Linked DNA regions of Homo sapiens: all the other regions are linked to region 2. The links are contacts of gene promoters, found by promoter capture Hi-C in blood cells and fetal thymus (Javierre and others, 2016). All regions are on one chromosome and are shown on one strand. Each heading gives the region's core, a stretch centred on a gene start or on the middle of the fragment in contact. The rest is flanking DNA. Distances are from core to core; before and after follow the strand shown.

Evidence for each region. The method cuts DNA at HindIII sites, captures the fragments that hold promoters and counts their contacts. A CHiCAGO score of 5 or more calls a contact.
Region 1: a fragment that was not itself captured here is called in contact with the fragment with the promoter of SARDH in region 2 in 1 of 17 cell types (endothelial precursors); the score reaches 5.1 in endothelial precursors.
Region 3: a contact is called between a fragment that was not itself captured here and the fragment with the promoter of SARDH in region 2, in 1 of 17 cell types (endothelial precursors). The highest score is 5.3, in endothelial precursors.

The regions. Positions count from the first base shown.
Region 1 is chr9:134,020,214-134,022,913 of GRCh38, reverse strand. No RefSeq gene overlaps it. Among named protein-coding and RNA genes, the nearest start is that of BRD3OS, 3.9 kb to the left of the region's middle. The HindIII fragment of the contact is 3,675 bases long and covers 1-2,700 here.
Region 2 is chr9:133,737,046-133,739,828 of GRCh38, reverse strand. It overlaps SARDH (sarcosine dehydrogenase), which reads left to right and starts at 1,477. Exons shown (of 21, transcript NM_001134707.2): 1 at 1,477-1,575. The HindIII fragment of the contact is 9,698 bases long and covers 1-2,783 here.
Region 3 is chr9:134,003,428-134,006,127 of GRCh38, reverse strand. No RefSeq gene overlaps it. Among named protein-coding and RNA genes, the nearest start is that of VAV2, 12 kb to the right of the region's middle. The HindIII fragment of the contact is 1,864 bases long and covers 434-2,297 here.

The DNA.
Region 1 (2,700 bases), core at 63-2,562, 280 kb before region 2:
ATGGTGCAATCTCAGCTCACTGCAACCTCCGCCTCCCAGGTTCAAGTGATTCTCCTGCCTCAGCCTCCCGAGTAGCTAGGGTTACAGGCATGTGCCACCATGCCTGGCTCATTTTGTATTTTTAGTGGAGACAGGGTTTCACTATGTTGATCAGGCTGGTCTCAAACTCCTGACCTCGTGATCCACCCGCCTCAGACTCCCAAAGTGCTAGGATTACAGGCATAAGCCACCGCACCTGGCTGCACAAAAGGTTTTTAAGGGTGAATGAGTGCCTGCCCATCTCCTTTCCTATCTGTCCTAAAACATTTAATTAGCTGTCTTTCAGTCTTTTGGCTCTAAGTCTCTTGGCCATAGGGATCCCACCAAGGGACAAGATGGACCCAGTGCAGGTAGCACACAGCCCCAGCAACGATATAGGACAAAATAAAAGTTTGGTCATCAATGCCATCTCTGGCAAATCTTGGCCAAAAGAAGGGAATATAAACTAAAAATAAAATCCTAAACTCCTCACTGACTGAACGGATCCCCTCTTGGCCAAGGGGACCTCAGAAAAAACTTAAAACTGAGTTCCCAGCCACGATGGGATAGGAGAGCCCACTCATGTCGTTATAACTCCTCCCTTTGGTGACTTAGAGACAAGGCACTAGCATTTGCGTTAAAATATGTAAGACTGAAAACATAGAAGACTGAAAAACAGACTCTTTATGGCGATAACATACCAAATTATAAATAAGACCTGTGGCTGGGCATGGTGACTCACATCTGTAATCCCAGCACTTTGAGAGTCCAAGGCGGGCAGATCACTTGAGGCTGAGAGTTCGAGACCAGCCTGGCCAACATGGTGAACCCCCATCTCTACAAAAAATACAAAAATTAGCTGGACATAGTGGCGCATGCCTGTAATCCCAGCTACTTGGGAGGCTGAGGCAGGAAAACCACTTGAACCCAGGAGGTGGAGGTTGCAGTGAGCCAAGATGGCACAACTGCACTCCAGTCTGGGTGACAAAGTGAGACTCTGATTCCAAAAATAAATAAATTAATTAATTAATAAGATTTAGGGCCATGCCAGGCACAAGTTAAGTCCTACACCTCTACAATTAAAGAATAAACTCTATTCTCACTGCCACGAGGTTGTTCCTTTTCTCTAGCAGCTAAGTAAGTACTGACCTCAAGATAAACAATGTTAAAACGATTTGCAGCTCATCCAGCTCCAGATGCTAACTGACCCCATTCACCCACCATAACTAGCTTTCTCTTCTTTTGAAACAGCGTCTCACTCTGTCCTCCAGGCTAGAGTGCAGTGGTGCAATCCTGGCTGAGTGCAGCTTCAACCTCCCAGCCTCAAGCAATCCTCCCACCTCAGCCTCCCAAGTAGCTGGGCCTACAGGTGTGCACCACTAGGTGTACCAGTAGGTCCACCCGGGAGGTGGAGTTTGCACCCAGCTACTTTTTGTATTTTTGGTAGAGATGGGGTTTTGCCATGTTGCCTAGGCTGATCTCAAATTCCTGGGCTTAAACAATCCTCCCATCGTGGCCTCCCAAAGTGCTGGGACTACAGGTGTGAGCCACTATGCCCAGCCAACTACAGCTTTCATTGAACAAGAGACTGATTTCAGCAACTTTCTCCAGGTAAGACCACTGACTATGGATTGGTTCCGGCTGGTTCAGAGAGGCTGCATACTTGTGTGCTTTTGTGTCCTGGAAAGACCTTTTTACTATAAGGCCTAATTTTATTTTATGTATGTATATATTTTTATTTATTTGAGACGGAGTCTCCCACTATTGCCCAGGCTGGAGTGCTGTGGTGCCATCTCGGCTCACTGCAACCTCCGCCTCCTGGGTTCAAGTGATTCTCCTGCCTCAGCCTCCCAAGTAGCTAAGACTACAGGTGTGCACCACGGTGCCCAGCTAGTTTTTTTTTTATTTTTAGTAGAGACTGGGTTTCACCGTATTGGCCAGACCTCAGCCTCCCAAAGTGCTGGGATTACAGGCGCGAGCCACTGCACCCAGCCTATAAGGCCTAATTTTAGTACATTTTGATGCTAAGTCTCCACCCCAAGGTGAACATGAGTTGTATGTTACATGCATGTTTGTTCAGTATGCATGTTGTCAGGACCTTCATGAATATTCATAGCTCCTCCTATAACCTGTTGAATGTGTATGTTTAGCCAACCTGTTCAGCATGGAGCTCCTGCCCCAACCCCTCCTCCTTCAGAGGCACATTTTCCAGCCTGTGGGATGGCCACCTTGCTGGCTGTAACCCTTTATGAGAAAGAAAGTCACCCAGGCGCAGTGGCTCACACCTGTAGTCCCAGCAATTTGGGAGGCCAAGGCGGGCAGATCACTTAAACTCAGGAGTTCAAGACCAGCCTGGCCAACATGGCAAAACCCCATTTCTACAAAAAGTACCTGGGCATGGTGAAAGGCACCTATAGTCCCAGCTACCTGGGAGGCTGAGGCAGGAGGGTTGCTTGAGCCCAGGAGGCAGCGGTCGCAGCGAGTCATGATTGCATCACTGTACTCCAGCCTGGGCAACAGAGTATTTATGGATATTGTGGGGTTCTTTTTTCAATTAACAGTACAAATTCAGGAGAATCTCAGACAAATTATTAAAATTAATAAGACAGGGCTGGGCGAGGTGGCTCACACCTGTAATCCTAGCACTTTGGGAGGCTGAGGCGGGTGGATCACGAGGTCAGG
Region 2 (2,783 bases), core at 228-2,727:
GGGCCACACTCCTTCCTTGCCCTCTTGAGCTCATTCGTCACCCTGTTGGGTGAGCACAGCCCTAGCTCAGGCCACTGGGCAAGCCACACCATCCAAAGAGGAGGTCCTCTGCCCCAGGACCCCCACACCACCCCAGGTAAGCCTCAAACTGGCGGGGCCAGCTTTCCACTGGGCAGCCAGGGGCCTAAGCCAGTGGGCCCTTTGCCTTTGAGGCAGGGACTGAGAATGGTGTCAGCACGTGGTCAGGCCCAGAGCCCAGGCCCCCTCCTCTAAGAGGTCCTCCTGGATTCCCTGCTGGAAGGAAGCCAGCCTTGTGGTGTCGTGTCTCTCCCTGGATCTGTCTGCTTCGTGGACCCTGAGCCCCTCGAGGGCAGGGGCTGGGTCTTAGATGTCACTATAGGTTTCCCAGCAGTGCTTTGTACACATTGGGCATTCAGTAAATGTAGAGGATAGACAAGCTGGCAACAAGACAGTCGGACATCCTCGGTGTGAATAAGAACACAATGATTTGATTGGTATTAATTACAGCAGTTTACTATACGATCGCTTCCGGTATTGGCAGCTGGCATCATTACAATATTAACAGACTGCCATTGAAATGCCCCGTCTTTGATCCAGCGCGAGGAGGAGATGTGACTTTCCATCAGCACCTGTTCTGATTCTTTGGGCATCCAGAGGTGTATTCTTTCTGGGTTTCCTCCACACCCCTCCTCTGGGTGTCTACTTCTGTCTGGGAAGGGGTAACTTGCCCCAGCCCAGAGTCAGGCTGCAGCATCCGGTCTGCCTCCTCCACCAGCTTGCTGTGTGGCCCCCTCCCTGGGCACTGCTGTCCCCAACAGTCAATGGAGGCTGGAATCCCTGCCCTGGGGGCTACGTGCTGTGCAGTAGCCAGTGGCTTGGGGGCATCTCCCCAAACACCAGAGGGGTCTGGGAGCTCGGGAAAGCAGGACGCAGACAGACCAGGAGACCCTGTCCCTGGGAAGCTGACCCAGGCCTTCTCACTCGCCTCTGAAGGCAGTGAGCATCCTGTCCCTGGGGGTGAGCAAACTGGGGCATGTGCTGAGATGACCTCACCAAAGGAGCCTCCCTGCAGTGGACGGGCCCCTGGCCCAAGCTGCTGCTGACCCCACCTTTCCTGCCCACCCTGCCTGTGCATAGCTCCTTCTGGGCGCGGGGAGCTCGGGCGGCTCCAGCAGGCAGGTGGTGCCTGGGTCTACTGCAGCAACCCTGAGGCGCCTGTTTCAGAGACGAGGAAATGAGGGTTGGAGCGGAAGGGTGACTGCCAGGTCGCCTACGGGTAATGGGGCATGGGGTTCACAACCCTGCTCTGCCGCCCTCAGAGGGAGCTGCCCACAGGGCTGGCCTAGAAGCCCCAACTAAGCTGGCCTAGAAGCCGCAGTGGTGGGCGGTACGCTCCGCCCAGATCCTGGGCGGAGACATGGGGCTGGCAGCGAGGGTGGGGGGCGGGGGAGGCCTGGAGTTCCGGCCAGGCCACTGCTTGGGAAGCAAGAAGGTGAAGGCACCTCTGCTGGGCCAAGCACTCTTAGGGCCGAGGGGCACTGCAGCTGACAAGAGGTACTTGGAGGTACACCCCCAGGGAGGGACGAGGCTGGGGCCTCCCCTATGTGGGCGGGGCTGGGCCTGGTCAGATCTGGCTGGGATCTCCCTCTGCCTCTGGCTGCAGGGACCATCCAGCTGCATGAGCAGGACCAGGGTTCACCATATGGGCAGCTGCCTCCCCGCCCCCTGCCGCTCCTCCCCACAAGTCTGCCTACCCTCACCAGGCGAAGGTGCCAGGCGCTCTCCTCGCTTGACCCCCACCACCCCCTGAGCCTGGGAGGAGGAGGGCGTTCCTGGGTCCTCTGCTTTGCAGTGAGGTTAAGTTGTTGCTCGAGGCCCCAGTCCTGTGACAAAACCCCCACCCATCTGTCTGATCCCAAGCCCAGGGCTGTCCTCAGCCCTCACTCCTGGGAAGCTGACTCAGGTACGAGACAGAGTTGGAGGGGGCAAGAGAGTGGGTTAATGTGGAGGCAGCTGTTTCCAGGGAGGTGGCAGGCAGGAGGGGCTCTGGGCTGTCCCCGCTGGGGCCGCTGCCAGCCCCCAGTCTGACAGTCAGAAGAGCCCTGACTGACCAGGCAGGTGGTGAAGGGGCACGTGGCAGCCTCCGGCGCCAGCAGCTGTCGCTTTTTGGGCACAGTCGGAAGGAGGAGGGAGGCTTTTGCCCACAGCTGACCAGGTGTGCTGTGCCATGCGGCACCGTGGTGGGTGGTGGGTGGTGGGGTGGGGGTGTTCAGCCTTGGAGGGCCTTCCTCGGTGCCACTCAAGCTGGCTTTCCCCTGGTGGGGCACCACTTTTGGGGGCTCCTGGAAGACTGTGGACCTTCAAGGACTGAAGGTATGTACAGACACATGCAGGAGGCATGCCTCCTTGTCCGGGGCCACCTCTGCAGGCAGGAGCCAGGCGGGCTGACACACTGAGGGCTGAGAGGCTGAGGACAAGCTCCAACACCTCCTCACTCCCCTACGCCGCTGCAATCAGACTCCCTGCTCCCTCCCTTGGGATGGGGCACTGGGGCAGGAGATGGGGGGCAGCCCTGACCAGCCTGAGAGCTGGGATCCCCCTCACATCCCCCACTGTGCCTAGGACAGGGTTCTGGGCTTCGTCAGGGCTTGGGCAGTGCCCACAGTTCAGGTGGGACAGAGTGTGGCAGTGGGTCCTGAGTCCCCCTGGGATGGTCAGAAGAGGGGGCAGGAGAGAGTCCCTGGCACTGCCACATGGAGGCC
Region 3 (2,700 bases), core at 116-2,615, 270 kb before region 2:
CCCAGAGGTTTCTTTTTTCTTTTCTTTTTTTTGAGACAGAGTCTCACTCTGTTGCCTAAGCTAGAGTGCAGTGGTGCGATCTTGGCTCATGCAGCTTCTGCCTCCAGGTTCCAGTGATTCTCCTGCCTCAGCTTCCCAAGTAGCTGGGATTACAGCCTGACTATTTTTTTGCATTTTTAGTAGAGACGGGGTTTCACCATGTTGGCCAGGCTGGTCTCGAACTCCTGACCTCAGGTGATCCGCCTGTCTTGGCTCTCTAAAGTGCTGGGATTACAGGCATGAGCCACTACACCGGGCCAGGCCCAGAGGTTTCAGAGGGGTCACAAGGAGTATGACTTTCGGGTGTGTTGCCCTAGGTGTCCCCGACCTGAGTCTGTGGCCACACTGGGTCCCAGTCAGGGTCCTGCTGTTGACCAAAAATACTTGCTAAGCTTGTGAATCTGCCCTTCTCTGGAGCTCCTCAGCTTGGGCTGGGCCAGATCTCAGCTTTTTCTCCCCGACAGCCACCAGAGCTGAAAGCCTCTTTAGAGAAGCTGCCAAAGAGGTCCTCTGGCTTTCCTGCCTCACTGGAAAGGGTGATCAATGGCCCTCAGCTGCTCGCTGGCTTTCCTCAGCGCATTCAGGCCTCCCTGCAACAGCCATCCATGGCCACCCATCTAACGATGAGCCCCCAGCCGCTCAAAAGTCTGAGGCATCGCACCCACCAGTATGTTCCCTCCCATGGGCGTCTCATCCCAGCTCACCACTGGGGGAGGTTTTAGCGATTGCTCCCTTGTGCTAGGGACTCTCCGTGCCCACCTGCCCTCAGCAATGGGGTTCCTTAAGGTGAGCCAGCCCATAATAGCATGCAGGGGTTAGCGTCCTTGGGCTCCTCCAGGCACCAAGTGGTGGGAGCGGAGGGGAGGGGAGGGGGCAGGACGCCACTGGCTACTGGGGCATAGCAGGGTCCATTTCACCTGGAGAAGAGGCGGCAGGGCCAGGAAGCCAGCAGGTCCCTCCTGGGGCACGGCTGGCAGCACTGCTTGACCCTTTCGGGCCGTGGTAGCAGGAGGGCTGGGGACACAGCTGGGCATGGGTATGTGGGGATGGCGGCCATTGACAAAGGCCTGTTGCAAACGCAATGAGAACATCAGTGATCAGCACCTGGGCGCAGAGCTGGCCGGGTTCATGACACCCCGGGCTGCCAAGGCAGACAGATCATGAGGACCGTGATCTGCGATTTGGCCCTGGAGGGACAGAGAAGGGAAGCCGTGGGCTGGGGGAGGAGAAATAATAACGCAGTGCCTGGTGCAGCTCAAGTTAAATGTTCCACAGGAGGACACACCTGTGCTGGTGCACGTGCCTGTCACCGTGGGATGGCCCCATGTCCGGGTGGCAGTGGCGAGGGTGTGAGCAGGGGCCTCAGAGTGGCCACCTCCAGGCTCACATCTGAGGCAGCCAGGGCCTGGGAGGAGCCAGGCCAGCTGGGCCACACTCTGGGCCAAAGGTTCCCGGTGACAGACACAGAGGGGAGCTGTCCAGGCTGCACGTGACCTGCGGGGGCTGAGCATCCACTTCCCCACTGCCTGCCCTTTTTGTCGTGGGGCGCTGGGACCCTGGGTGGCCCCACTGGTGTTTGAGAGAAGCGGGTCCACCCTCTGCCGAGTAAGCCCATGGGAGCTTGGACCATTCAGGGAAGTGAAGATGGCTATGGGAGGGACTTCCTAGCGTCACGGCAGGCGAGCATGGAGCTCTGAGCTAGGACCCTGGAGGAGACTGCATGGGCCCTGAGCCAGGGGAGGGTCAGCTGTCCTCAGCGCTGGGCATGCGGCCATCTCAGCGCCCTGGGTACCTGCTGTGCCCATTTCACACAGAGGCCAGAGGCCAGAGTTTTGACTCGCCTGCCCAGGGCCTCAGAGTGACTGGGTGGAGCCCCTACTTGGGGAAGCCCCTGGCTCTCCTACAGACAGCCCCGAGCATGTGTGAGAGGCTGGGGAGGCCAGACCTTGGGGTTCTTCTCAAGGGGTTCCCAGTCTCAGGAGGCCATTCCTACCGGCCTCTCCCATCCTGGATGTGCCACAGTCACCACTGGGGTCTGAGATCAACATCTCCAGCCTGAGCCCACCCGTGGGCCCCACAGAAGCTGCAATCAGACCTTCACATTCTCCCACGGGATGGAGCCAAGAAATTCACCATGGCCCTAGCAGCAAAACCCACTTCTTTGGAGCCAGGATGAGCCTGGTGACCCTGGGAGAACACTTGCCTTGGAGACCTCTGATAGGTTCAGCACAGTTGCCACACAGCATCAACATGAAGCTTGGGGTGTGTGGTGGGATGGGAGGGGGCTCAGGGCATCTGCAGGTGTCTAACTCTGCTCAGAAACAACACAGCACCCTCTAGGACCCCTGGGACCTCCCTAGCAGACAAGAGGCCAGGGCAGCAGCCTCTGTTTCTCAGACACATCTGACACCTCCCTCCTGACACTGTGACAATCCTAGACTGGCTCTGCATCTCCCCAGGCCTTGCACAGGGTGGATGGATGGATGGATTGATGGATGGATGGATAAATGTACAGATGGATGGATGGATGGATGGATGGATGGATGGATAAATGTACGGATGGATGGATGGATGGATGGCTGGATACATGTACAGATGAATGGTGGATGGATGGTTGGGTAGGTGGATAGACACATGGGTGGATGGGTAGATGGGTGGATA